Linked DNA regions of Homo sapiens: region 2 is linked to region 1. Evidence: promoter capture Hi-C in human tissues and cell types (Jung and others, 2019). All regions are on one chromosome and are shown on one strand. The core of a region is centred on a gene start or on the middle of the fragment in contact, and the rest is flanking DNA. Distances in the headings are between cores, read along the strand shown.

What was found. The method cuts DNA at HindIII sites, captures the fragments that hold promoters and counts their contacts. A contact is called where the count stands out against the background at its distance.
Region 2: a fragment that was not itself captured here is called in contact with the fragment with the promoter of SLC25A51 in region 1 in 1 of the 25 tissues and cell types used here (bladder).

The regions. Positions count from the first base shown.
Region 1 is chr9:37,900,235-37,907,211 of GRCh38, reverse strand. SLC25A51 (solute carrier family 25 member 51) reads left to right here and starts at 3,085. Exons shown (of 3, transcript NM_033412.4): 1 at 3,085-3,144. It also overlaps the pseudogene PAICSP1. RefSeq lists a silencer at 2,885-3,644. The HindIII fragment of the contact is 6,842 bases long and covers 1-4,595 here.
Region 2 is chr9:37,939,771-37,946,747 of GRCh38, reverse strand. All of the region lies in intron 5 of SHB (SH2 domain containing adaptor protein B), which reads left to right. Among named protein-coding and RNA genes, the nearest start is that of SLC25A51, 39 kb to the right of the region's middle. The HindIII fragment of the contact is 4,559 bases long and covers 2,217-6,775 here.

The DNA.
Region 1 (6,977 bases), core at 1,836-4,335:
ATATGTTATTAATACAGATGCACGTGAGTTGCTGGATCAGAGCAGGTTTGGACATGAATGAAGCAGAAAGGGAGAAGGTCCTGGAGTTCACAGACCAGCCATGGGGACAGACTGCAAGGACCTGAGGTGGGGGCAAGGGAGGGTGGGGCTGACAGCACTGAGGGGCTCTGCAGCAGGACGTAGTGAGTTCAGATGGGGCAGCAGTGACCAGAAGCCTCTGAACTGAGCCATGCAGGAGGAACAGGACATTGTTATGAAGCAAGCAAGACCTTTTAGGCACAGAGGACAAAAAATACCCAAGCGTTGGGGGACGTGAAAAGAATGCAGCAAGTTCAGGGAAGGGAACACCAAGGGGCTGGCTGGCCCTTGGCCATTTGGTACTGGGGGTGTGAAGGGGAGTGGCAGAGATAGTCACTCACAGTAGCTGATACTCCACTGACAGCTTGCGTAAGGCTGTTTTCGTGCACCTAAGAGCCAATGAAGTCTGAGGGCACCAGACAACCTTCTAGAAAGCATTTTTTGAGGGGAGGAGTGGAGGGTGATTAAGCAAAGATCCACCAGCAACCTTCTTATGGCCCTTTCCCCCAGGAACCCAGGCCCTGCCTTCCAACAGCTCTGCTCTCCACCCGCATTTCATTTCGGCAAACATCTCCTAGGCGCCCTTTTTGCCAAGCACTGAGTTGGAGAGCCAGGAAAAAGCCAGACAGCTCTGCCCTCATGAGCTGGCGGTGGGAAAGATCACACTGTCATGAGTGACTACAACATAGGACAGGATGTCAGAAGCGCCCCAAACTTTGGGGCATGGGAAGGCAGGGGCAAGGACAGTCAATTTTGCCTGAGATGATCAGGGAAGCCTTCTAGGAGGGAGAGGAGGCAAAAGGACCTTGAAGGGCTATTTGGTGAAGGGCTAACATGTATCAGTGGTGAAAGGGGGAAACAGGCTTAAGGAACACAGGATTTGCAAAACACTGAGACTGCATATGGCTAAAGCACAGAATATAGTTGGGGTTGAGGTGGACAGACTGGCAAAAGGGCCAGGACAGGACAGCCCCGTGCACCGAGTTAAGGAGTTTGGATTTACTGGGGGAACCAAGAGGGAACCAAGGGGGAACCATTGGAGATTTTTAAGCTGCGGGATGACATGATCACAGCTGGGTTGGAGGATATCTGGCAGCTGACCTAGTGGTTGGAGGTATGGAATGCAGGAATGGGTGGATGAGGACAGAAATGAAGGGCTAACTTTAAGATGGATCTGGTATCCAAAAATAGAGGGTTTTCATCCCCAACATTCATATGCCCAAGAAGAGCCAATGAAGGGCCTGGGGGTTTCTGACAAGGAACTAAGAGCTGGAGGGGCAGAGGACTGTGCTGTGGCCTGCAGCAGCATAAAAGAAGCAGACTGGGCTCAGCTCCAGACCTCAGTTTTCCCGTTAGCCTGGGATTTTCTGAGTCTGGTGTGCCCCAATTGTGTGTTTAATTTCAGTCTTTTCCTTCTTGTTCAGGTTTTACCGCAGGAGAATAACCTCTCCATTCTAATCTGAAATTAATTATTTATGCTTATGAACACGCTGGATGCCTGCCTGGTTTATTTATTTTTCAAATAATGCATCTGAATAGGCATTCACACAAGACAGGGCAAACATAATTTTGAGGCAAAGGCCCTTTCCAACTGTTGCCCGATTAACTGTTCTAAGCCATTGTGTAGCCTTGTCCTTATCCTGCGGAGTCCAAAATTTATCCCTCGCGTACTAATTAGATGGCAGGTGTCTGTGTCTGACAGTCAAGATTCGCATTATCCAGCCCCACCACCTGACCCTTACAATCTTATCTCCTGCTGCTATGACTTTCTCCACTGGGCCAAATTCCACTCATCCATCCTCCAAGGCCCAGTTCAAACGTCTGCTCTGTGAAGCCATCTCTGGTTCTCCCTCGAGGGGGGAGGTCCCCTCATGCTTCTGAATTTCCAGTCTTTTGTTGTTGTATCCTTCATCAGACGCTAAGCTCCCCAGGACCTGGCACGCAGTAGGTTCCTCAATGGAGCGTTTGCTGGAATGGGGGAGGGTGGTCTCCAGCTTCCCGAGAGGCACCTAAGCACGCCAGCCAAAGTGGGGCTGGGCAGAGACCAGACCCGCTTTTGGAGTCAGTGTCTACAAAGTGCTCTCGGGGGAAGGGGGCACGCGGGGAACGTCGCCCACCCGGAGCCGATCCCCCCAAGAACGCTTCACTCGGGTGGGGTTACTGCTTGGGCTCGCCCCAAGCACAGTGCGCACACTTCACACATCCGCAAGCCTCCTGAAACGCCTCTCCCCTCAGGCCGACCTTTCTGTTTCCTTCAACGCCTCCCATCTGTTGTGTGCGTTCCAGTTTCCAACTCAGAGTCAGAACCATCATTTCCAAAGACTCCTGCAACAGCCCGAGGACGCATACAAGGCATGGGTTACTTTTCAGACGGAGATTTGGGGCTCAGGGTCCAGCGACTCACCCAAGGTCACTCTCAAGAAGTATGAGGGCTATGACTTTGACCCAAGCCTTCTAACTCCCCGGGCAGCGCTCCTCCCAAGCCCCCCGCAAGCTGTCTGAGCTTCAAAGGAAAAAGTTTAAAAGTGATCCATACGTCCCAAAGCACGCACAAAGCGTTCTTCTGTAAACTGCGGCATGGGTCGCTGATAAAAGGTCCCTCTGAAGGTTTGAAGATACTCAACAAGGCTCCACAGAGGGTACTTTGGAGTTTTCCGCGAAGGCGCTCGCCCCGCAGAACCGACAAGGCCCCTAAAACCGACAATGCCCAGACGCCCCCTGCAGGCAGCGCGCTAGAGAACGCGTTGGCTGTTTCTGGCACGCTGAGGCCACCGTACGGCATCAAGGGTGAAGCATGGTGGCTAGCGGAGCCCGCATCCTGACAGGTGTGCTGGCGTGGCCCTCTACCTGCCCCGCCGCGGCGGCCTGCGGCCAGGAGAAGTAGGCTGGCGACATCTGGCGGGCCGCGGGCCGAGGGAGGGGAGGCGGGGCGGGGCGGTGTCTCCCTCACGTGACCCCAACAGCGCCCAGCGCGTCGCGCTGCGCCCCAACCTCGGGGTCGGTCACAGTCTGCGCCTGCGCGGGCCCCGGCTCGCTAGCCGTCCTGCGGGACGCCGGCGCTGATGGGTGAGTGTGGGACGAGCGTGGGGAAGCACCGGGCTTTCTTCGCATGAGGTTGGAGGGAGGGGAAACGCGCTGAAGGGCCCGCTGGGGCAGGCTGCCGCCCTGGGGGCCCATCCCTGTCTTCTGCGCGCTCCGGCTGCCCTGGCCCGGTCCCTGCGGGCCCCACCCAGGCGGCGCGGGCGGAATCAGTTCTGAGCCTCCTCGGCTCCGGGCTCCCCCGCCTGCCGCGGGTGTTTGTCCGGCTGCTGGGCGACCTTTCCCGCGAAGGCGCTGTCCCTTCATTCGGGCGCGCCCTGGGCTGGGGAGGCACCTCCCTGGTGCACAGGAACCGCAGGGGCGGGGAGGAGCCGGGAGCTGCCTGCGCCCGGGGGACAGCGGGGATGGCACCGCGCAAGGGCCTCTGCGTCCCGGGAGACTGGGATTTCGGCCTCACCTCGGGACCCCTGACTGTGAAGTGTCAGAAACGGAAGAGGACTTAGTGATCTTGTCCAACCCCCTCCCCGCCTTTCACAGGTTGGGGAAATGGACGCCTGGAGAACGGTAAGTTCAGCTACATAGCCTGGCAGTGCTTGTTCTGCGACAGCATATTGCATCGCGTTGTAGGAAGCTCACTTGTACAAGGATTTTCGGGGACGATGGTGTTGGTGGTGTTAGTCTCCATCCATTATTTGGTGTTCAGTTTAGCTAGATGGAGTATGTCAGCACCTCAACTTCCTGCAAAACCTTTGTTTTGCATCTCACAGCTCTACCTAGCTGATCTTAATTCCCACCTTCTGTTTTTCTCTACTTGTAATCTCTGAAACAGAAGCCCTTGAAATGTATAGTGACCTTGCCATTTTGAGCCGCCTCTGCCCGTGCTTTGAAAGGATTCCATAGGATCAAAAGGTGCTAGGACTCTTGAGGTCCCATAGTGGTTTAGAGCACAGGTTACCGCTTTGGAACTGGAATCACCCTTAGCGCATCTCAGGGGAAAACAAGCTAGGAGTTGACTCATCTGATCTCTCGTTTGGTAAATGAAAGCAAACTCAGATCAGTGGATTTTAAAATCAGATATTGCTTTGTCTTTATATTGGCAAGCTAGTGTCGTAACTAGGACTAGACCCAGGCTGATCTTGTTCTGAATGCTGACTCAGACCTGCTGACTAGTGGAAATTCACATCCTTTGAGAATTGGAGTCACCCTCTCCCCAGTTTTTGCAGAGACCTTTGTGCTAGGATCATATCTGTATCATGCTGATCCATGTAGGCTGTAAATTATAATAAGGTTTTAGACTTTACACTGTTTTCTTAGTCACAGAAGCTTGACACTTGTAGTTGCTTGAAAATCAAGTTCATTAACTGCTCCCTTATGATGAGATAGTTTTACGTAGCAAACAAGCGTAAAGTTATGGTAAATAAATTTTGCAATAAATTGCAAAGAATTATCCACATTAATGAATAAAAATATAAAGATCAGTTTAGCAAAGAAATTTAACCATGTTCACAGTATAGGTAAACATGCAAAAGTCTAAACTGTACTACCAAATAATGCTGTGCACATTATCCTTCTATTGCTAAATTAAGAACATATTCACACCATCCTGGTGTGTAGGATTAAACTAGAGAAAAAGCTTTAAATCTGTAAAGTCCAGGAGGGTTTCATAACATTTTTTCCCCCATCTAGGCCTATTTTTTAAATCTGAGAATCTCAATGTACAGTAATGTTCTTAAAATAGTTGGATATGGTGGTCAATAAATGGTTAACTTCTGTTAGCTGTAGTTTTCTGCTTGTTTAATAACAGTCCCCATTCTCACACAGAGTCATAAATAAACTAACCTTTATTTGCAAAATTTCAGAAAGTAATACAAGTAACATTCCAGTAAAAGTGAACATGGACAAAATTTTTATTGTTGTTCAAGTACACAAATAACTTGGCTTGTACTGTCAAGGAGCATGTGTAAACAGCTTGTAGGTGGTGACTTTAGAATTTAAAATATTTTGTGTGCTCCGTATGTAAAAATAAAATGGTTTTGACATTCATAAATTGTCACAATATCATGTAATCATGTACATTAATCTAAATATTCTTGTTGATTTAACATTGTTTAATTCTGAAACTGAAGAAGTGCAAAGCATTACATAGGTATCAAGCATTTCTAGACTAAGTTTTAGGACTTCAAATATTGATTAATCTTAGCTTGTAAGTGTACTAATAAGAGTTTTTAACTCATACCTATCAGCTGAATCAGTAAAAAGTAAGGATGTAGTAGAACTAATAATTATCAAACTCAATACCCTAACAGACTTCAGTGTCTAGAACATATCTTGAAGTTAATCATATTAAGCCCCAAAACTCTGTACATTAAGAAAGGGAGAGGAGAGAGGGAACAGATGATATTCTGGAACCTTTTTTTTCCCTTTAATCTTATTTTTACTGTGAATAACAACACTAGACTCACTGAAGATTTTGGGACACTTACTAGCAAGCATAGTTAAGACAAAATGCCAACTCTCTTAAATAGTAATAAGAGTTTTGCTCAAAGAAAAGTACACAGCCTTAAACAGTCAAGTTATGAAATAAAGGATAAAAATAGTTGTCTCACTTAAGAATTACAAGAAAATAAGCCAGGCACAGTGGCTCACACCTGTAATCCCAGCACTTTGGGAGGCCAAGGCAGGCTGGATCACTTGAGCTCAGGAGTTTGAGACCAGCCTGGCTAACATAGTGAAACCCCGTCTCCACTAAAAATACAGAAATTAGCCGGGTATTGTGGCATGCCTGTAATCCCAGCTACTTGGGAGGCTGAGGCAGGAGAATCGCTTGAACCCAGGAGGTGGAGGTTGCGGTGAGCCAAGATTGCGCCACTGCACTCCAGCCTGGGCAACAGAGTGAGACTCTGTCTCAAAAAAAAAATTTTTTTTTTAAACTAGGTGAGCATGGTGGCTGATGCCTGTAGTCCCCTTTGGGAGGCCAAGGCTGGCAGATGATGTGAGCCCAAGGAGTTTGAGACCAGCCTGGGCAACGTAGAGAAACCCTGTCTCTACAAAACATACAAAAATTAGCTGGGCTTGGTGGTGCGGGCCTGTGGTCCCAGGTACTCAGATGGCTGAGGTGGAAGGATTGCTTGAGCCCAGGAGGTCAAGGCTGCAGTAAGTGCAGTGAACTGCGAGGTAGCCACTGCATTCAGCCCAGGTGACAGAGCAAAACTCTGTCTCAAAAAAACAAAACAAAACTGAGAAATAGTAAGATTGGTAATTCACAAGCTGCTGCTTTGCTAGGAGTGGTAAGGTTATAAATTAGATAAACTGATAACCCTGCTCAAGAAAAAAGGGAACATAAGTACACAGGTTAGAAGTAATTTTTTAAAACAGCAAGTGTTGGATGGGTGCAGTGGCTTGTAAATCCCAGCACTTTGGGAGGCCAAGGCAGGAGTTCAAGACCAGCCTGGGCAACATAGCAAGGCCCCCTCTCTGCTAAAAAAATGTTTTTTAAAAGTTAGCCAAGCATGGTGGCATGCGCCTGTGGTCCTAGCTACTCAGGAGACTGAGGCCCCAGGGGTCCAGGCTGCAGTGAGCCATGATCGTACCACCGTACTCCAGTCTGGGTGACAGAACAAGACCCTGTCATTTTTTTTTTTTTTTCTGGATAGAGTCTTGCTGTGTCGCCCAGGCTGGAGTGCAGTGCTGTGATCTTGGTTTACTGCAACCTCTGCCTCCCGGGTTCAAGCAATTCTCCTGCCTCAGCCTCCCAGGTAGCTGGGACTACAGGTGCGTGCCACGATGCCTGGCTAAATTTTGGATTTTTCGTAGAGATGGGGTTTCACCGTGTTAGCCAGGATGGTCTCGATTTCCTGACC
Region 2 (6,977 bases), core at 3,247-5,746, 38 kb before region 1:
TGGAGGGGCCTCCACGAAAGGATCAGGGAGGACAGGACAGAGCACTCCATGCCAAACCGGGCCGTTCATCCTAGAGGACCAGAGCCCCATCAGCTGCTCCAGCTTCCTGTTCTTCTAGGCAGAGGTGGGGAAGTACTGAGCCCTTGAACTAAGGTCCTGCCGGGCTGGCACTGGGGCCCTGTGGTGACTCCAGTGCAGACCTGCCTTCGAGGGAACAGCAGCCTATTGAGTATCCAGGATGTGCCAGGGCTGAGGTCCCAACCAGGGAGCACACAAGGAACCTAGACCCAGTGGCAGAAGTAATAGTGCCAGCTGTCTCCTGCAGAATACATTTCTCAGTCCCCTGTGCATTGTACCCTCAGTTATAAAAGCAGGCCCAGATGTCAGCTCACAGTGGGGCTCAGAGGGCCAGAAGCGTCATTTCCCCTCCTCACTGGGGTGTGCCATTCCCTAGAGGGTAGGACCACCCTTGACGACACGTTGATTCTGCCCTCACAGCGTAGGCATGCAGTCCCAAGGGCCCAGCTGTGTTTGGTGGGGAAGGTAGAGGACGGGCCTCGTGCCTGGCCTCCTGCACTCACTGGCCTTGTGGCCTTGGCCAGTCACGCCATAGGGGCCTCAGTGTCCTCATCTGTGCACTGCGTATGGCAATGAGCTGCTGACAGACAGTGTTCCCAGCCCAGACAGTGCTGTGTCAGTGTTATCTAGTGTGATTCCCATAACCCTGCCCCTGTTTCCTGGGGTCAGCCCTGCAGTTTGATTGAAGTCCATTTTTAAGAGCCACAGGAAGGACCCATTGTCCAGAATTCTGGATAGGAGTCCTGTCCTGCCACTCGCTGCTCCCTGTGTGACCAAGTTTCTTCCCCTACATCTGTCCAGTGGGGAGTTGGGCTTTGATGGGCTCTAAGGCCACCTCCACCAATGACATCAGGGGTTCTCTAACTCTCCCCATGTCCCCATCTGTGGGCTGGACCACCTGCACCTCCCAGGTGAGGGGAGGACGTCGAGGGAGACTGGGAAGGCAGCCCAGCAGCCTCTACCATCAACTCTGTGTTTGCCTTCCCGCACCCATCCCATGGACCTCATTATCAGGAACTGTCATTTGGGTGACCCATCTGAGCCCAAAGGAGCTGGAGGTGAGGTCTAGTTTTGCATGCAGATCTAGAGGCATTAGATCACCACCTCCAAAGGCCGGGGTTGTTCTCACCTGCCCAGCTTTCCCCTGAAGAATGCCAGAATTGGGGAGGTGGGCTGGGCTGGGCATCCTATGGCTGAGCCAGGCAACCCACTCAGGGGAGATGAACTTGCTTCCCAGAGGAGCCCCAGCTCCCGATGGCCAGTCCAGCTGCTGGTTGGGGAGCAATGCCCTGGAATGAATCACCTCAACCGCAAGGGGAACCGTCCTGGTACTGCATATCCTGGCTGCCTGGAGCAAGCACCATCTTTGCCAGCCACCAAGTGAGGGGCCTGATCTCTCAAATACTCAAGGCTTGCCTGGCAGGGGTGGGTGGGGAATGGCATTCTTGACACTGTCAGGAGCTTGGTGCAAATTGACACTGGAATTCCAGCTATGCTGGTTATCCGCCTCTGGCCATTTTCATGTGAGTTTGTCCTGCCCTGAGGGTGTTCTAGGATGAAGAAAGGATCTGGGGGAGTTCAGCCTCAGAGGACACCCCGTGCACCCTTCCCTCAGCAGATATTTTTCAGAGCCCTCCGTACCAGCCACTGGGCTGGGCATCAGAGAGAGTCCAGAGGTGAGAACAGTCAGGCCCAGCCTCCAGGGGCTCAGCCTGGCCAGGCCAGCCTGTGTCTTGTTGTACACAGGTCTGCACAGGGGGGTCTTGGGAGCCCAGAGCTGGCATGTGGGTGGGCAGTCCCTGCCACAGAGAGTCAGGAGAAGCTGCAGGGAGAAGGCTGCACCTGAACCTTCAAGAGAAGGCAGGTGTTCCCCAGACAGGGACGGCTAGCAGGGCAGCTCAGGTAGAGGGGACAGCCCAGGCAGAGCCATGGAGGTGCAGGAGAGCCTTGGCGGGTCTCGGGGGCTCCCAGAAGAGTTGAGATGCAGTTCTCAGTGATGGGGCCACTGACGTGCAGGTTGCACTCACCAAGGTCCTGCGAGGCATTTTCTTCCTCATCTTAGGCTGGGGGAAGCCGAATGCCTGCCAGGGTCCACAGCAGAGCCAAGACTGGAGTGGAGGCCATGGGACTCCCAGCCATGTCCTCCCATCTCCTCCCCGGCATTCCTTACACTCAGTCGAAAGGTCTTCTGACGTCAGACCTAGAAGTGTTTGAGACCCATTTACTCTAGTCCCTTTGCCTCATGGGGGTGGGGAAACTGACACCCAGAAGGGATTTAGGGTTGGTGTAAGGCTGCCCGGCTGGCAGCTGACCACTGACCACAGAGATGGTGACAGCTTCCCACTGTGGTGACCAGACAGGTCCCTGGATCAGCCCAAGCTGCCACCTGTCGGCATCCCACCCCCCAACTTTCTGCACTTGCAGTGACCCACAGTGGCGCCTGCACACCTCATGACATCTCAGAGCCCCCTCCATGGCAGGGGCCCCTACCTGTGAATCGTCTTCGGCGATTCTGCCTGATTGCCCTTGAACACTTTCCTCATCCCCTCCTGCCTGCAGAACTCTCTCCCTTGGCTGCCCGCCAACTCATTGACCTGGCACCCACCACTGGCCCCTGGATACTCTCACTCCAGCCTCAGGGAGCAAAGGGTTGAGCTGAGAAATTGGCAAGAAAATGTCAAACTCTTAACACAGTTTCCTGTCTCTGGAAAGGCTGGCAGTGGAGGAAAGGGATGAAAAGCCTTGAAAAAAATCTCATTAAAAGGCTCTTCAGGCACTTTGGCCTGCGAATGAGTCTTGGCAAGTTCTGGTTTGGTGAGTTTTTGCAAAGGAATGTGGACAAGATGAGGGAAGGACTTCAAAGACTGGGGGACTTCTAGCTGGGGGCAGACAGCAGGGAGGCGGGGTGAGTGCTGTGGCCTCCAGTTCTGCTGGGCAGGCTCTGCCCTCATGGAGCAGGGATCCTGTGTGACCCATGGGAAGGGGCACCGAGTGGCACCTCTGAGGCCTCTGCAGTCAGCAGCTTTGACAAGGACCCAGCCCCTGCTTGGTTGAGGTGGTGAGAGTCCCAAAGCCAGTGGGGCTAATGGCTGCATACAGTCCTTACGGAGGGACCTTTGGCTTTCTAATCCCCGAAGGCAAATTGCCTGGCATCTTGCAAACGTGACCTAAGGAGACACCTCTGGGGTCTGGCCTGTTTCCATCATGCTGTGGCACTTGGTTGTTCACAGCCTCTCCAGCCCAGCCAATGAGCTCTGCCCCGTCCAGTGTCAGTTACTGAATGAGCTGTAGCCCTGCAGGAGCTCACAGCCTCACAAGGAAAGGAAGACACTTACACCTATAACTCACGGAGAATGTGTTCAGGGCTGCCCGAAGTAGAAAGTACTCTTTCTATGAAAGTTTCCAGGCTATGAAAGAGGGAAGGAATCAGGAAGGGGAATGTGAAGGATGAGCAGGTCTTAAACCCATGCACAGGGGAGAAAAGGCAGGCTGCAGAGAGAATGGGCCCAGAGACAGGGCAGGGCGGAGCTTGCCTAAGAACAACAAATGACACATTCATCTGAGCCCAAGAGAGATGTAGCCCTGATCACCAGGTGGAGGGGTCGGGGCTTTACCTGTGAGGCAGCAGGGAGTTCTCAAGGTTTGAAACAGGATGCAGTGCTATTGTCAGGGCTGTATTCTAGAACCATGAGTGAACTAGGGGGCCCATGAGTACTGGCGAGGAGGGATGCCAGCTTCTGCCTCCCTGTCCCCCCAGTGATCCCCCCCTTCCCCTCCATGTCCCTACACATGCCACGTGAACTGGCACAGACCGAGAGCTGGGGAGGGGCCTGATGTAGGAGTCCAGAAGGCGAACAGCACGTGGGCAGGCATCCCAGGAGACCGAGGCAGCCCTTTTCAAGATGGAGAGGGACAACACAGGCTCTGCAGTCAGATATCTGAATCCAAGTCCTGCTTCCATCTCTTTCCCCGCACCTGATGCTGGGCAAGGTACTGCACCTTCCTGAGCATCACGGGATGCTTGCCTCAGCAAGAAGTAAGGCTTGGCAGATAAGCCCTACACATAGATGGTGCTCAGTATATACCAGTCTCTGCTTCTCCCAGCTTTTCCAGAGCCTTCAGAAATCACCACGGAAGCAGCAGAGTAGACAGAGCCCTGGGTGAGTCCAGGCTGTCCCTGCTGCACTAGGTGACTTGGGCAGGTATCTGGCAGGTATCTTCTCCACTTGCATCGATAAAATGAGGGTCTGGGGTCTGATTAGTAAACTTGCTTCCAGTTTAAGGGTTCTATGACTAGACCACTTTCCTCTCAGTCCAAGGATGGCAGGAAGGTCCCATCTCCTCCAAGGAGGGAAGGAGGAGCACGACATTATCAAGAACTTGCCTCCTGTCCTTCAGATTGCTTGATGACGTCTATTTGTATCCGGCTTAGAGCAGCCGGGTTTGTGTTGACTGCTGGGTACTCAGTCTTTAGCCGGCAAATACCTCCTGTAGCTCCGAAGGAGGTTGGGTGGGTGTAACAGGGCCAAGAAGAGCTGAGGGGCACTGGGGGTGCGTGGCAGTTAGGGTTGTTTTTCTTTTGTCTGTCCCTTCATTGATTAATATAGCAAAGGAGAGAGTTTTCAAACAGTAGGCATGTCTGGGTCCAGGCAGGCAAGTGATTAATCTTAGTTTGTTGCTGCTGACAGCTAGGAGAAAGAAATAATAAAGGTTTAGGGGCCAGTGGGAGTGGGGATATGAGGAAAGGCTGCTCTCCCCTCATCTATCAGCAGGGAGCAAGTCTCCACTTCCTTCTGCCGTCCAAGCATCCCCTTGTTGGGTTAACATCTGAGACTCCAGACACCTAGCTCCGTGGTGGTTGCTTGCTCCCATGTGTGAGCCACCAGGGTGGTCCCTGCAAGGCCACAGTGGGACCTCCCTGGCCATTGTTGAGTTCCCCACACAGCCCCAGCATACCTGAATACCTGACAGTGGACTTAGTAGGTCACTGTATTCCCCAGCCAGGCCCCTGCAGGGATGATGAAGCCTTTTAAGAGCAAACTTCAGGGAAGGCAGGTGTGTGCAGCTCAGGTACAGTACTGCTTGCCTCAGGACCCCCACACTGCTCAGCAGTGGTTGCAGGGGCCCTGAGCTCCTGGCCATGTGCCCCATGACTCCCCCAACAGAGGGAGCTCTGCACAGCGGTGAAGACAATGGCTCTGGGTCTTGGCTTAGGCTCTTGAAACCCAGCTCCGCCACATACTAACAGGGTAGTGTTGGGCAAAGGGACTGAACATCTCTGAGCCTTGGTTTTCTCATCTATAAAATGGGTTTCACAGGTGTATTAATGAAGACACAATATATGTGAAGTGCTTAGCATATGCTCCAGCATATAGTGAGTGCTCTATCAGTGGTAGCTCAAATGTCTTTATTATGGACCTCAGAGAGCCACGGGTTGTTGGGGAAAGAGCTCGGTGTGTCCCAGTGCATTGCAAATTGTCTGGGTTCAACCTGGAAGTCTCCATCTGTGCCCACATCCACTGTCCTTTACGATGATGGGTTCTAGATTTTATTGGCTACAGCTGGAAAGAATGCTAGAGAATCTCACAGAACTGGAGTCCAATCCAGGCTCCCCTCTTCCTGGATAACCTGTCTTGAACCTCTCACCTCTCTTGCACTCTGTACGTTGTGCTTTGGTGTGACCTTGGATGAATGAGTGAACTTCTCTGACCTCCTAGTTGCTCATCAGGAGCTGGAGATGATGACCACTCAACAGGTATCCTTTTTCATCACCATGCTGCTGCCCCTCCAGCTCTCCTGCCCATCTTCCGAACTTGTGGTCTGGCCTCCTCATCTCATAGGGAAGCATGTTGGCAGCCAGTCAAGGTAGCAGCTCCAGGAATACCCTAAGCAGAAATCTTGGGGTTTAGGGAACAGAAAGAGACTTTTTCAATTTTCTGGTCCAATATCTTGAACAAGTGGAGATACTGAGGCCCAGAAAGAGGAAGAAGCTTGCCTGCCTCTGGCTTTCCCAGCAGGCAAGCTGTTTGCTAGCAGCATTTGAGCCAGCCTGAGTCAGGGCAGCAGGGGTGGTGGGGGAAGAGGGGGTCTGTCTCTTTGCTCTTATCGCATGGAGGATTTCATGTCCTTTCAGGGCTCATGGAGGAAAAATGAACTTTCTGCTCAATTAGCGTGCTTCGTGTTTTCTCCTTCTAAAAGGTTTAAAAGAAATGCCACAATTAGAAGCCACTGCTGTAGGCAAAACAGAGACTCCTCAAACACTCTTTGCAGAGGACTAAATGAGAACAGTGAACTTTAGAATGTGCAGATGCCTTGCAGGATAAGAGAGTGCACCATTGAGGGGACACTGTGAGGAATATTAGATGACATTTCCCTTTATTCAGAATTACTGAGAAAATGTGCCCTGCTGGTGGTAAAACATTGCCAAGGACGCCACCCTCAACATTAGACTGGCACCTCTTCTGGACTCTGAGCCTGGTGCTTTGGTGATTCTGGTGCAGTGGGGGTGGAGAGTGTAGGAACAGCCCTGGGCCTATGCCCAGGAGACCTGGGTTCAAATCCTAGCTCTGCCTCTGACAAGTTACGGGATCCCAAACTAGTCACCATGATTTGCACCCTTCCTTTCTGAAGGGTTCAGACAGACCCTAGTTTGAGTTCTGCATATTCTCTGAGCCCTCTGTTTACTCTCTAGCACAGCAAGTGTAAATCCTGCCCCGCCACCTGCTCTGGGCTGCTGTAACATGTGAGTGAGGTGATACGGGTCAGCATGCCCAGCACAGGGCCTGATATTTGGGAATAGCCAGCTTTCACACTGTGATAGTATGTTCAAGAAGAGTAGCAACCATTGCCATCATTTTTACAGATAAAGAAACTGGTGTTCACATTACGTCACAGTTAAT